2 separate regions of the Homo sapiens genome follow, and region 1 is linked to region 2. The links are contacts of gene promoters, found by promoter capture Hi-C in human tissues and cell types (Jung and others, 2019). All regions are on one chromosome and are shown on one strand. Each heading gives the region's core, a stretch centred on a gene start or on the middle of the fragment in contact. The rest is flanking DNA. Distances are from core to core; before and after follow the strand shown. Region 1 overlaps ACAP2 (ArfGAP with coiled-coil, ankyrin repeat and PH domains 2). Region 2 holds the start of MUC4 (mucin 4, cell surface associated).

Region 1 (6,899 bases), core at 3,737-6,236, 380 kb after region 2:
GTGATGGTGCCACTGCACTCAGCCTGTGTGACATAGTGAGACCTAGTCTCAAAACAAAAATGAAACAAACCCACCAAAAACAAAGCAAACAAACCCTACAGACCAGTATTCCTTATGAATGCAGATACAAAAATCTTTGACGAAAGTACTAGCAAACTGAATATAGCACCATATAAAAAGGATTGTACACCATGACCAAGTCATAGTTATCCCAGGAATGCAAAGTTGATTTAATATACAAAAATCAATCAATGCAATATACTATAATAATAGGGTAAAGTATTAAAACAACACAATCATCTCAATAGATGCAGAAAAAGCATTTGACAAAATCTAACACTCATGATAAAACTATTCAAAAAACTAAAAATAGAAAATTTCCTAACTTGATCCTAATTTGATAACGGCCATCTTTAAAACACCCTCAGCTAACATCATATTTAGTGGTGAAGGACTAAAAGCTTTCCCCTAACATAAGGAGCAAGAAGCCTGTCACCACTTCTGTTCAACACTGTAGCAGAGGATAGAGCCAGAGCAGTTAGGCTGGAAAGAGAAATTAAAGGCATCCATATAGGAAAAGAAATAGTAAAACTATATTTTTAGATAATAAGTCTTGTACAATCAGCCTTTGTATCTATGGGTTCCACTTTTGTGAGTCAATCAATCATGGATTGAGAATATTTTGGAAAAAAACAATAAAAAATAACGATAACAAAGTACAAATAAATAGTATAACAACTATTTACACATAACATTTACATTGCATTAGGTATTAGAAATAATCTAGAGATGATTTAAAGTATATAAGATGATGTATGAAGGTTATTTGCAAATACAGTGCCATTTTATATACAGACTTGAGCATCCGTGGATTTTGGTATTAGTGGGTAGTGCAGGGGGTGGGCAGGGGGAGTCCTGGAACCAATGTCCTATGGATACCAAGGGATGAAGGTATATAGAAAATGCTAAGGAATCCACAAAAATCAGTTATAACTAGTAAGTTCAGCTAGGATGTAGTCTATAAGATCAATGTACAAAAATTATTTGTATTTCTGTATACTAACAAAGAAAACCAATCTGTCTATAGTGGCGTCAAAAAGAGGAAAGTACTTAGAAGACAGTACACTGAAAACACCATTGAAAGACATTAAAGACCTGAATAAATGGAAATACATCCCATGTTCATGGATCAGAAGGCTGAATATTGTTAAGATGGCAATATTCCCCAAATTGATCTACAAACTAAACGCAATCTCTATGAAAATTCCAACCGGTTTCTTTGAAGAAATTGTCAAGCTGATCCTAAAATTCATGTGGAAATATAAGTAACCCAGAACAGCCAAAACAATCTTGAAAAAGAACGAAGTTGGAGGATTCAATTTCCAATTTCAAAAGTTACTACAAAGTGATTGTAATGAAGACGGTGTAGTACTGGCATAAGGATAGACATATAGATCAGTGAAATAGAATTGAAGAGTCCAGAAACAAAGCCTTGCATTTATGGTGAGCCAGTTTTAACAGAGGTACCCAGACAATTCAATGCGTGAAAGAATAGTCTTTTGAACAAATGGTGCAAAGACAACTGAATATCCACACGTGAAAGTATGAAGTTGGAGCCCTATCTTATGTCATAGGCAAAAATTAACTCAAAATAGATCACAGGCCTGCATGGAAGACCTAAAACTATAAAGCTCTTAGGAGAAAACAGAATTAAATCTTTGTGACCTTGAATTAGGCAATGGTTTCTTAGGTATGAAATTTAAAGTACAAGGAACCCAAGAAAAGATTGATAAATTGAATTTCATTAAAATTAAAAACTTTCATGCTTCAAAGGACACAGAACATTAAAAGTCATGCACAAAATGAGAGAAAATATTTGCAAATTATACCTGTTAAGGGATTTGTATCTAGAGAATGTAAAGCTCTGCAACTCGAAGGACAAATAATCCAATTAAAGAATGGGCAAAGGATTTGAGTAAGTATTTCTTCAAAGAACATACCCAAATGGTCAATAAGCACATGAAAATATGCTCAACATCATTAACTAGCAATGCATATAAATACAAATAAAATCATGGTGAGATACGACTTCATACCCACTAGGATGGCTATACTGGAAAAGACAGATAATAACCAGCATTGGGAAGAATGTGGAGCTGTTAGAACCCTCATGCACTGCCAGTGGGAATGTAAAATGGTGAGCCACATTGGAAGAGTTTGGGAGTTCCTAAGATAAGAAGTTAAACATAGAGGCTGGGTGCGGTGCCTCATGCCTGTAATCCCAGCACTTTGGGAGGCCGAGACGAGTGTATCATGAGGTCAGGAGATCGAGACCATCCTGCCAAACATAGTGAAACCCCATCTCTACTAAAAATACAAAAAAAAAAAAAAAATTAGTCGGGCATGGTCGCATGTACCTGTAGTCCCAGCTACTCGGGAGGCTGAGGCAGGAGAATGGCGTGAACCCAGGAGGTGGAGCTTGCAGTGAGCCGAGATCACGCCACTGCACTCCAGCCTGGGTGACAGAGCGAGACTCTGTCTTGGGGAAAAAAAAGAAAAGTTAAACATAGAGTTACCATATGAGTTCTAGCGAGCCATTCCACTTCTAGGTGTATACCCAAGAGAAATGAAGATATATACCCACAAAACTTTGTACAAGGATGTTCATAGGAGCATTATTCACTGCCAAAAAGTGAAACAACCTGTGTCCGTACATGGATAAATAAGATATGAAGTATCTATACAAATGGAATTAAGGTATTCAGCTGTCAAATGGAATGAAATACTGTTATATGCCATAATATGGATGAACCTTGGAAACATTTTACTAAATGAAATAAGCCAAACACAAAAGCCATATATTATATAATTTTATGTGAAATGTCCAGAATAGGCAAATTTGTAGAGCCAAAATAGATTAGTGATTTCTAGGGGTTGGAGGGTGAGGGAAATGCAATTAGTGGTTGCTAACGGATATGGGGTTTCTTTTGGGAGTGATGAAGATTTTCTGGAGTTAGTGGTAATGGTTGTAGAACTCTAAATATACTAAAACCCACTAAACTATATTTTTAAATGGTGAATTTATGTTGTGAATTATATTTCAATATAGCTGTTACTGAAAAAGGTTTGAAGCGTAGAACATTTATAATCAAACGCATAGGTGGAATAGAAAATACATGTTGAGCCTCCATATTTCTTTCGCCTTGACTTAACAGTTATCAATGCATGGTGATCTTTAAACCCCAGCCCCTTGTTTCCCCATATGATTTTTTTTTTTTCAGTTGAGACAGGGTCACACTCTGTCACCCAGGGTGGAGTGCAGTGGTGCAATCTCGGCTCACTGCAACCTCTGCCTCCCGGGTTCAAGTGATTCTCCTGCCTCAGCCTCCCGAGTAGCTGGGATTATAGGCGTGAACCACTATGCCTAGCTAAATTTTGTATTTTTAGTACAGATGAGGTTTCGCCATGTTGGCCAGGTATGGTCTCGAACTTCTGACCTCAAGTGATCTGCCTACCTCGGCCTCCCAAAGTGCTGGGATTACAGGTGTGAGCCACTGCTCCTGGCCTCCCCATATGATTTTTGAAGCAAATCTCAGAGAGTATAGAATTCCATCAGTATGTATGTGTATGTCTCTGAAAATATATACACTTTAAAAAAATTATGTAACTACACACCATTATCACATCAGAAAAAAGTAACAATAATTAATAGCATCAAACATCCATCAAATAAGCTTCATAGCTTATGTAGGATTTATTTTGTGTCCTTTATCACATTAGAAGATTGTGTCTCTTCTTTATCAAGTAAATTCCCTCCCTGATAATCTGTAGATAAGAAATCCCGGCAGATCATCTTGGCAGAAACAAATCATTAGAGAACATTAGGCAGTCATCCATGGACTGTTTTGGACCTGTCCTTTTCATCTTCCTTTCTAACCTGAATTTGTTGCTTTCCTGGCATTTTGCACTTAATTTTTTGATTATAGAAAATTTCAAGCATATACAAATTAAACAGAATAATATTAATGACCCCTCATTATCCAGTTTAAGCAAATACCAATGTTGTGTAATTCTTGTTTCATCTATGTTTCTGTTATACTTACTCTCCCTTGTGCCATAGGCAAAAAGAACTCTCCCAAAATGGATCATAGATCTAAATGGAAGACCTAAAACTATAAATCTCTTAGGAGAAAACATAAGATTAAATTTTTGTGACCTTGAATTAGGCAATGGTTTCTTAGATATGAAACCTAAAGTAGAAGCACCCAAAGAAAAGAAATTAAAAAGTATTAATTCGTGTTCATAGTTTTTTTCTTGATAAAAACTTGCATACATTGAAATGCACAATTGTACACTACCCGTCACCTACACCTCTGTCACGATACAGCCTATTTTCCATCTTCCCAGAATGCTTCCCCCACCACCTAAAGACAACCACTGTTTTGCTTTTTTTGAACTTTAGATTAGTTTTGCCTATCGTTGAACATTATAAATAGATTCTTATGGTTTGTATGTCAATTATTATTCTCAGCGTTTTGGTACTTTTGCTTAGCATTTTAACTATGAGATTGATCCATGTTTTTCTGTGTGTCACTAGTTCATTTTTTTTTTTTTTTTTTGAGATGGAGTCTTGCTCTTTTGCCCAGGCTGGAGTGCAGTGGTGCGATCTCAGCTCACTGCCTCCTGGGTTCAAGCTGTTCTCCTGCCTCAGCCTCCTGGATAACTGGGATTACAGGCACACACCACCACACCCGACTAATTTTTGTATATTTAGCGGAGATGGGGTTTTATCATGTTGGCCAGGCTGGTCTCGAACTCCTGACCTCAAGTGATTCACCCACCTCAGCCTCCCAAAGTGCTGGGATTACAAGTGTGAGCCACTGCACCTGGCCAGTGTCACTAGTTCATTCTTACTGCTGTGTAGTATTTCTTTGTGAATGTACCATAATGTATTCATTCTCCTGATGATGGATAGATTGCTTCCATTGTTTGATCATTGTGAATAAAGTTGTTACGAACATTCTTATACAAATTTTCTTACGGTAGGTTTTCATTTCTCTTAAGATAAATACCTAGGAGTTGAATTGCTGTGTCAAGGGGTAAACGTGTTTATAAGAAACTGCAAAGCATTATTCCAAAGCGATTGTACTGTTTATAAATCTGCCAACAATATTTGAGTGTTCCTGTTGCTCCACATTCTTGCTAGCATTTGGTAATATCACCTTTTGATATTACCCATTGTGTGAGTATATAATATATTCCTGCATGTGTGTGTTTAATTGCAGTTATGTGTTACTTAATGACGAGAATATCTTCTGAGAAATGCATCATGATTTTGTCATGTAAACATCATAGGGTGTATTTACACAACTTAGATGGTATAGCCTACTACACATCTAGGGTATATGATATAGCCTCTGGGTCCTAGGATACAAACCTGTACAGCTTGTTATTGTACTGAATACTGTAGGCAATTTTAACACAGTGGCATTTGTGTATCTAAACATATCTAAACATAGAAAAGGTACAGTAAAAATATGATATTATAATCCCATGGGACCGCTGTTGTATTTGTGGTCTGTTGATTGGAATATGACTGTGTGTGTATATATATGTATAGACCTATATATATGAGTGTGTGTGTGTGTGTATATATATATACACACACACCTATATATATGAGTGTATATATATCTATGTATGTATACCTATGTATGACTGTATATATACATCTATATAATATATATACCTATATATATGACTGCATATATACATACATATAATTATGACTATATATGTATACATGTATGTATATATATACAGTCACATTCCAGTCAACAACAGATTGTGTCATATATTCTATTAAGTTGTTATGACATAATACTGCTTAGTCCTGTTTTGGACATGTTGATACCCTGCTTTTCTGGATTATTGATAATTTGGTAACAATTTTATGTTACTTTTCTAGAGTTTAGACTAATTATCTTTTAGACGTGTGTGTGTATATATATATATATGCATCTGTGTGTGTGTATGTATACATACAGACACAAGCACATATAATTGAATGCACCTGTTTTTTCTTTTTTTTGAGATGGGGTCTCACTCTGTCACCCAAGTTGGAGTGCAGTGGTGTTATCTTGTCTCACTGCAACTTCCACCTCCCAGGCTCAAGTGATCCTTCCACCTCAGCCTCCTATCAGGGAACACAGGTGCACACCACTACATCTGGCTAACTTTTTGTATTTTTGGTAGAGATGAGGTTTTGCCATGTTGCCCAGGCTGGTCTCAAACTCCTGAGCTCAGGCTGTCCACCTGCCTCAGCCTCTCAAAGTGCTAGGATTACAGGAGTGAGCCACTGCGTCCGGCCTAGATATGTTTAGATACACAAATAACATTGTGTTAACAATTGCCTACAGTATTCAGTAAAGTAATATACTGTACAGGTTTGTATTCTAGGAACCATATAGGCTATACCTTGTACCTTAGGTGTGTAATAGGCTACACCGTCGAGGTGGCTTGTAGTCTGTGATGCTTGCCCAGTGAAGAAGTCATCTAACAGTGCACCTCCGAGAAGGTATCACCTTTGTTAAATGATGGATGACTAGCTTTTTATTGCCGTTATAGCAAATTACCCCAAACTTAGTGGCCTAAAACGACACAAAATGATTTTACAGTTCTGGAGATCACAGTTTTGATACAGATCTCACTGGGCTAAAATAAAAGGCCAGTTGGCAGGGCTGCATTCTTTTCTGGAAGGTCTAGGGAAGAATCCTTTATTTTAGTTTTTTATACCTTGCCTTCTCCAATTTCAAAGGGCTGCCCATATTCCTTGGCTCATGGCCCCTTTCCATCTCCAAAGCCAGCAGTGGTTGTGATACTCCCTCTTCTATCCTCCT
Region 2 (6,291 bases), core at 2,868-5,367:
GGAGGCCGGGCTGGGCAGGAGGATGTGGCACCTGCGTAGGGAGAAGGAGGCCGGGCTGGGCAGGAGGATGTGGCACCTGCGTAAGGAGAAGGAGGCCGGGCTGGGCAGGAGGATGTGGCACCTGCGTAAGGAGAAGGAGGCCGGGCTGGGCAGGAGGATGTGGCACCTGCGTAAGGAGAAGGAGGCCGGGCTGGGCAGGAGGATGTGGCACCTGCGTAAGGAGAAGGAGGCCGGGCTGGGCAGGAGGATGTGGCACCTGTGTAAGAAGAAGGAGGCCGGGCTGGGCAGGAGGATGTGGCACAGCTGACACAGCCACAAAGCTCCTGCCCATGGGGCGCTCTGAGGGGCAGACTGCCTGTTGGCGGAGTCTTGTGGGGTGGAAATGGTGAGGTCACTGTGATGCCACTTTGCTTAGTCATCGGCCACAGGGTCACCTGGAGAAGAGCATGAGCTCAGCATAAAAGCAAGGCCCACCCTGCAGGGGCCAGCAGCTGGGAGCTGTCCACTAACCACTATCCTTGCAGCTGGACAGCGAGGCCCCTCCAAAAGGCCGTCTCCACCTGCCACCGGGAAAGGACCCGGAGCGAAGGATGTCGTGGGCGGTCAGCCCAGGTGATTGCCCTTCTTTTGCTTTGGAGCCAGGCAGAACAGAGCTCAAATTCCAGCTTTGGGACAGTGTGTGGCCCAGAAGGCTGTAACTGCGGAGTTAACACTCTCCAGTTTCCCTAGATGGCCCGACCTGGCCGGTGACTCGGGGATGATGAAGCTCCTGGAGCCTCAGCGTGCTCACTTGAGAGGTAGGGCAGCGCTTTGTACTTCACAGGGCCATGGGGACAGGCTCAGGGCCTGGCACTCTAGTGACCGGCTTCATGCTGGGTCACTGACTAGGGAATCCACACACCTTTTTAGTCCAGACTGAGTAGGTAAATCAGACTTAATAAACATCCAGCTTCCTGCTCGAGATCAGCCTAGTTGTCCTAAGTCTGACAAGATTGAACTTTATTCACAGCACGAGGCATAAATGATATAAAGGTAAGCAATTTTAGGGGACCCAAAAAACTAGGGACTCCTACTTGGGTAGCTTAGAAGGGGAATCTCTCTTGGAGATCCTGGCTTTGCTGCCTCAAACCCAGCTGTCTCTTCAAGCCAAGTCTGGGAGAATCTCATGATCTTATCCTTGCTCCAATTTACTTACACCCCACATCCACACTAAGCTCTTCCTGCCTCCCGTGGAATATTAACTTACACCTGACTTCAGACTCCTGCCCCTATGCAGACCCAGCAGTATGCGGGCCTAGGAGGTTTTTCGGCCACAAGGAACTAGAGAAGCCACTCATTTTGTCCCCTCTCATTCACCCCATTCTGTCCCCATCGGATGCCTTGGGAGGAGAGAAGGAAGGACAAATGGGTGTCCCGTGACCCAACCCAGATGAAGACAGAGCCATTTATCACAGAGACCCAGACACATCCTAACTCTGGAAAATGGGCATATTGAGGGGAGCTGGAAAGCAGAAGGGAAACGGGCGTGGGCAGGGAAGAGGTGAACAGGAGTGCGCACGCCCAGTTCTCCAGGATCTCACGCTCCTAATCAGGATCCTATAAGACTCAAAGGGGACGCAGGAAAGACCTGGGCCTGGAAATTCACTTCCGGACTCCTCCTGTATCCTGGCTGGCCCTCGTTTGTGTCTCCCTCCAGGGATGATGCCCGGATGGAAGGAGGAGCCACGTTCCTCCACAGGTGTCCTCCACAACAGGTGTCCTCACAACAGGTGTCGTAACAACAGGTGTCCTCACAACAGGTGTCCTAATACTCCCGCAGCCCCTCAGCATCTACAGGCTCACTCCCACCCTACAACCTTTCAGATAGGTGTTATCCCCATTTTACAGGTGAACGAGGAAAACAGCTCGAAGAGGCTGTGACTTTGTGGTGACGCGGTGGCAGAGCTGGGATCAAGCCCAGGTTTGTAACGCCCTCCTGGAGTCTCGGCCGTCACAGCAGCTTCCGGAGAGCGCTGTGTGCCTCTGGCCTTCCTGGCATGGGAAAGAGGTCAGCTACCTGTGTTCGGTCAACAAGATGTCCAGCGCTTAGTTTGGTCTCACCTGGATGCTCCTTTCTCCTCTAGAGATGGAAAACTGTTGTCCTGAAAGCGTCACCAAACAAAACCTGTGGAAAGGTAATGGGGGGACCCACGAGCAAGAGCTGACAGAAAAATGACCACGGGCCGGGTGCAGTGGCTCACGCCTGTAATCCCAGCACTTTGGGAGGCCAAGGCGGGCGGATCATCTGAGTTCAGGGGTTCGAGACCAACCTGGCCAACATGGTGAAACCTCGTCCCTACTAAAAATACAAAAAAAATTAGCCGGGCGTGGTGGCAGGTGCCTGTAGTCCCAGCTACTAGGGAGGCTGAGGCAGGGGAATGGCGTGAACCCGGGAGGCGGAGCTTGCAGTGAGCTGAGATGGTGCCACTGCACTCCAGCCTGGGCGACAGAGCAAGACTCCATCTCAAAAAAAAAAAAAAGTGCAAAATGATCACGAAGGCCAAGCTGGGCCTTGGTGTCTGCGAATTCCCTGCAGTAGGTCCCTCCTGCTGCCCCGTCCAGGCGCCCACAGGATGCTCCACATGACTCTTTACCTTTATGATTTTCTTACCTCCAGGAAAGAACAGGGTCAGCTCGTCCACCCAGAGCTGGAGGGACTGTTGGGGGACCACGCCACTTCCCCACGGTATCCGCATTATTATGGCGTGGCCCAGGCTTTGGCCTGGGGCCATGAACAGACTTTCAGCTTCTAGAAGCAAGTGGTCACAGGGCCTCCGTGACCCTCGGAGACAGCGCCACAGCGTCGGTTGCCTACTCCTTGCTGGACAAGGCTGGCTCTGCTTGGGAATGCAGAAACCCTGAGTCCTTGTCCTGGGCCCCACAGTGTCTGAGCATCGAAGGTCCCTGCTCTGGGACGAGTCACCCCACAGACACCCCACATTCGGGAATCAAGTCTTGAGGAATCAGAAGCAGAGATTCACACTGTGGCAAAGAGGGGAGCGGAGGTATCCCCGTTTTCCTTTGCAGAGAGCTACACCAACTGCCCTCTTCGTCTTTACAACCCTACTTGGGGTCCCTTTCCCTCCTCGCTTGTGCCTGTGAGTTCCAAGAGGTGGAACTGGGGTGAGCAGAGCCCCCAGGTCTCCAGGAGCAGCTCCACCTCCTCACAGGTTACAGTCGCTTCCTCCTACCGAGGTTCTGCCTTCAACCCACTGCCCATGCCAGCTCCCTCAGGCCAGTCTCCCAGACTGTCCCTGGCTCCCTGCACCCTGGCTCCAGCTCCCTGCCCTGGAAAGAAGAAGTCCACCATCTGGTGAGGGTCTGCCACGCATCTGGGGTCTGCCATGCGTCTGCACTGAGGTTCTGCCACGAGTCTGCACTGAGGTTCTGCCATGCGTCTGGAGTCTGCCACGCGTCTGGGGTCTGCCACGCGTCTGGAGTCTGCCATGGGTCTGGGGTCTGCCATGTGTCTGGGATCTGCCGTGCGTCTGGGGTCTGCCACGCATCTGCACTGAGGTTCTGCCACGCGTCTGGGGTCTGCCACGCGTCTGGGGTCTGCCACGCGTCTGGGGTCTGCCACGCGCCTGCACTGAGCAGATATTCCAAGCACACCACCCCTTTCCAAAAGACGGCATACAGTGCATTTCTGTTCCTGCCCCTCACCCACATGGTTCCCCGCTTCCCAATTCCTTGGGGTCTGCTTAAGTCTCACTCTCTTTCCCCCATTCATACAGCCCCAAGGTCGCTCCCTCTGGGGCCCTTTCTTCCCCATTCTTCCCAGCAGCCCAAAGCTCTGGTGGGACAGGGGCAGCCCCTGGGGAGGGAGGAGAGGACCCAGGAACCCGGCTAGGAGGGTGGCCCACCCATTTCCAGTGTGACCTGTTCCCATTCCCCCATGTCTCCTCCCATCCCTCCCGCCACTCAGCTCAGGCTGATGAGAAGCAGAGCAACGGGTGTATCGGTGTTTTCTTTCCTGGTGGGGTAGTGGGGTGGGGCTGAGGAGAGAAAAGGGTGATTAGCGTGGGGCCCCGCCCTCTTTTGTCCTCTTCCCAGGTTCCCTGGCCCCTTCGGAGAAACGCACTTGGTTCGGGCCAGCCGCCTGAGGGGACGGGCTCACGTCTGCTCCTCACACTGCAGCTGCTGGGCCGTGGAGCTTCCCCAGGGAGCCAGGGGGACTTTTGCCGCAGCCATGAAGGGGGCACGCTGGAGGAGGGTCCCCTGGGTGTCCCTGAGCTGCCTGTGTCTCTGCCTCCTTCCGCATGTGGTCCCAGGTAAGTGATGGAGACAGCAGATGAGGCTGGCTGCGGGGAGCACTTGGGGGAGGTGGGAGCTGTCAGAGAAAGAGGTCCGGGGAGACAGAGAGAGAGAGAGAGAGAATAGGGGAAAGGGAGACAGCGAAGAGGAAGAGAAGGGAGAGAAAAAGAGGGAGAGGGAAAGGAGAAAGAGATGAATGGGACAACATGGGGGGAAGGTGGAGAGAGACCCAGAGAGGGAAAGAAGAGGAAGAGAAGAGGGAGAGAGAAAGAAGAGTGGAGGCCGTGCGCGGTGGCTCATGCCTGTAATCCCAGCACTTTCGGAGGCCAAGGCAGGAGATCACCTGAGGTCAGGAGTTCGAGACCAGCCTGGCCGACATGGTGAAACCCCGTCTCTACTAAATATACAAAAATTAGCCGGTCGTGGTGGGCCCCACCTGTAATTCCAGCTACTCAGGAGTCTGAGGCAGGAGAATCACTTGAACCTGGGAGGTGGAGGTTGCAGTGAGCCAAGATCGCGCCACTGCACTCCAGCCTGGGAGAGAGAGCGAGACTCTGTCTCAAAATAAATAAATAAATAAATAAATAAATAAATAAATAAATAAATATAAAATAAAATAAAAAATAAGAAGAGGAGAAAAGTGGGGAAGAGGAGGCATGAACTGGCAGATACGGGACAAGATCTGAGGGGAAAGACAGAGGGAGAATGCTCGAAAGAGAGAGAAAAGAGAACAGAGGGCCAGAGAGCAGCCCGGCGATGTCTGGAAGGATCCATGGTGAGAGCCCAGGCTTACTCGCAGAGAGAAAGACAGGCAGAGCCAGAGCAAGAGGAACAGAGTCAAGGAGAAAGATGTACACCCTTGTGTACAGAGCTGGGGGTAGAGGGGATGCCAGGAAAGCTGGGTGATGGAGACGGAAGAAAACTCATGTAAAGCTGCAGGGTGAGAGGACGAGACAGGTGAGACGCAGACAAACTGAGGACCCTGGGAATGGAGAGAGGAGAAGATCGGGAGACAGCAGCAAGCAAGGGAAGCGACAAGGAGGAGAGGGGCAGGCCGGCCGGGAGGGTGGTGCGGAGGAGGCGGCCAGGGCGCAGAGGGCCGGGAGGTGCTGGCCGTGGGCTTCTTACCTCTGAGCTCGGGTTTAAAAGCCTCCATTTGGGTCACGGCCTTGCCTGGGGCTCGTAGCCCCGGCATTGGCCTTGGGCTCCTCCGTGTACAGAGCTGGGAGGGGAGGGATGCCAGGCCTGTGGGAGATGTTCCCTCGGGGGCCCCCGTCCTCTTCCCCACACTTTCCAGGCTGTCCCTCTGGCTTCAGGACCAAGTTTTATTCTGTGTTTCTGGGTGTCTGAGTCTTTGGGGGAGAGTCTGGGGTCCAGAGTTCAAGCTGGGGTTAGAGTCTCAGCTCCTGCCCTGCCTCTCAGCAGGCTAAGAACAGTCGCCGAGGGAAAATATTTCTTGGGCGCATATTTGAGGAGCTTCCTGGGAGTGAGTCAGAAGGCGAGTGCCGTTTAAAGGCTGCAAGAGAAGCCATGCTGGTGAAGCGGACCCTTCCACCTCGGGATGTTTCAGGACTAGGCTGAGGGCAAAGGAAACTGCCACCACCTCCCTACACCTCCCCACCCTCCAGCACCCCCACCCCACCCTGGCCACACAACCCCGCTCCAGTGCTCATCCCACCGTGAGGACGTGGAGGCCGGAAGGAGCCGCCACACGGCCCTGCCCTGCAGATGTGGTTGAAGGAGTCTCCACGGGAATCATGACTCCCAGAGCGAGGCTGGGGCTTGGGGCGCCGGGGAGGCAGCTTGGATTTAGGAGCCCCAGGGCCAAGTCTTTGCCGTGAACTGTTCTGGCCCCTGTGACCAGGCCCTGCCCCGTGTCTCCCCAGGGCCCCGGTCCCCTGTGTAAAAAGCAGTGGTGAACGGTTGGACCTCCTGACGCCCAAGTTCTTGAGTTTCCAAATCTGTGATTTAAAGCTGAGCCCAAATGTGCTGGGTACC

What was found. Contacts are between HindIII fragments. The study calls those that stand out against the background at their distance.
Region 1: a contact is called between a fragment that was not itself captured here and the fragment with the promoter of MUC4 in region 2, in 1 of the 25 tissues and cell types used here (ovary).

The regions. Positions count from the first base shown.
Region 1 is chr3:195,427,099-195,433,997 of GRCh38, reverse strand. The region is part of intron 1 of ACAP2 (ArfGAP with coiled-coil, ankyrin repeat and PH domains 2); the gene reads left to right. Among named protein-coding and RNA genes, the nearest start is that of ACAP2, 12 kb to the left of the region's middle. RefSeq lists an enhancer at 1-215. The HindIII fragment of the contact is 5,776 bases long and covers 2,099-6,899 here.
Region 2 is chr3:195,809,755-195,816,045 of GRCh38, reverse strand. It overlaps MUC4 (mucin 4, cell surface associated), which reads left to right and starts at 4,117. Exons shown (of 25, transcript NM_018406.7): 1 at 4,117-4,310. The coding sequence starts at 4,229. LOC124905352 (vegetative cell wall protein gp1-like) reads right to left here and starts at 341. Exons shown (of 3, transcript XM_047449429.1): 1 at 1-341. The coding sequence starts at 331. RefSeq lists an enhancer at 5,857-6,291. The HindIII fragment of the contact is 26,053 bases long and covers 1-6,291 here.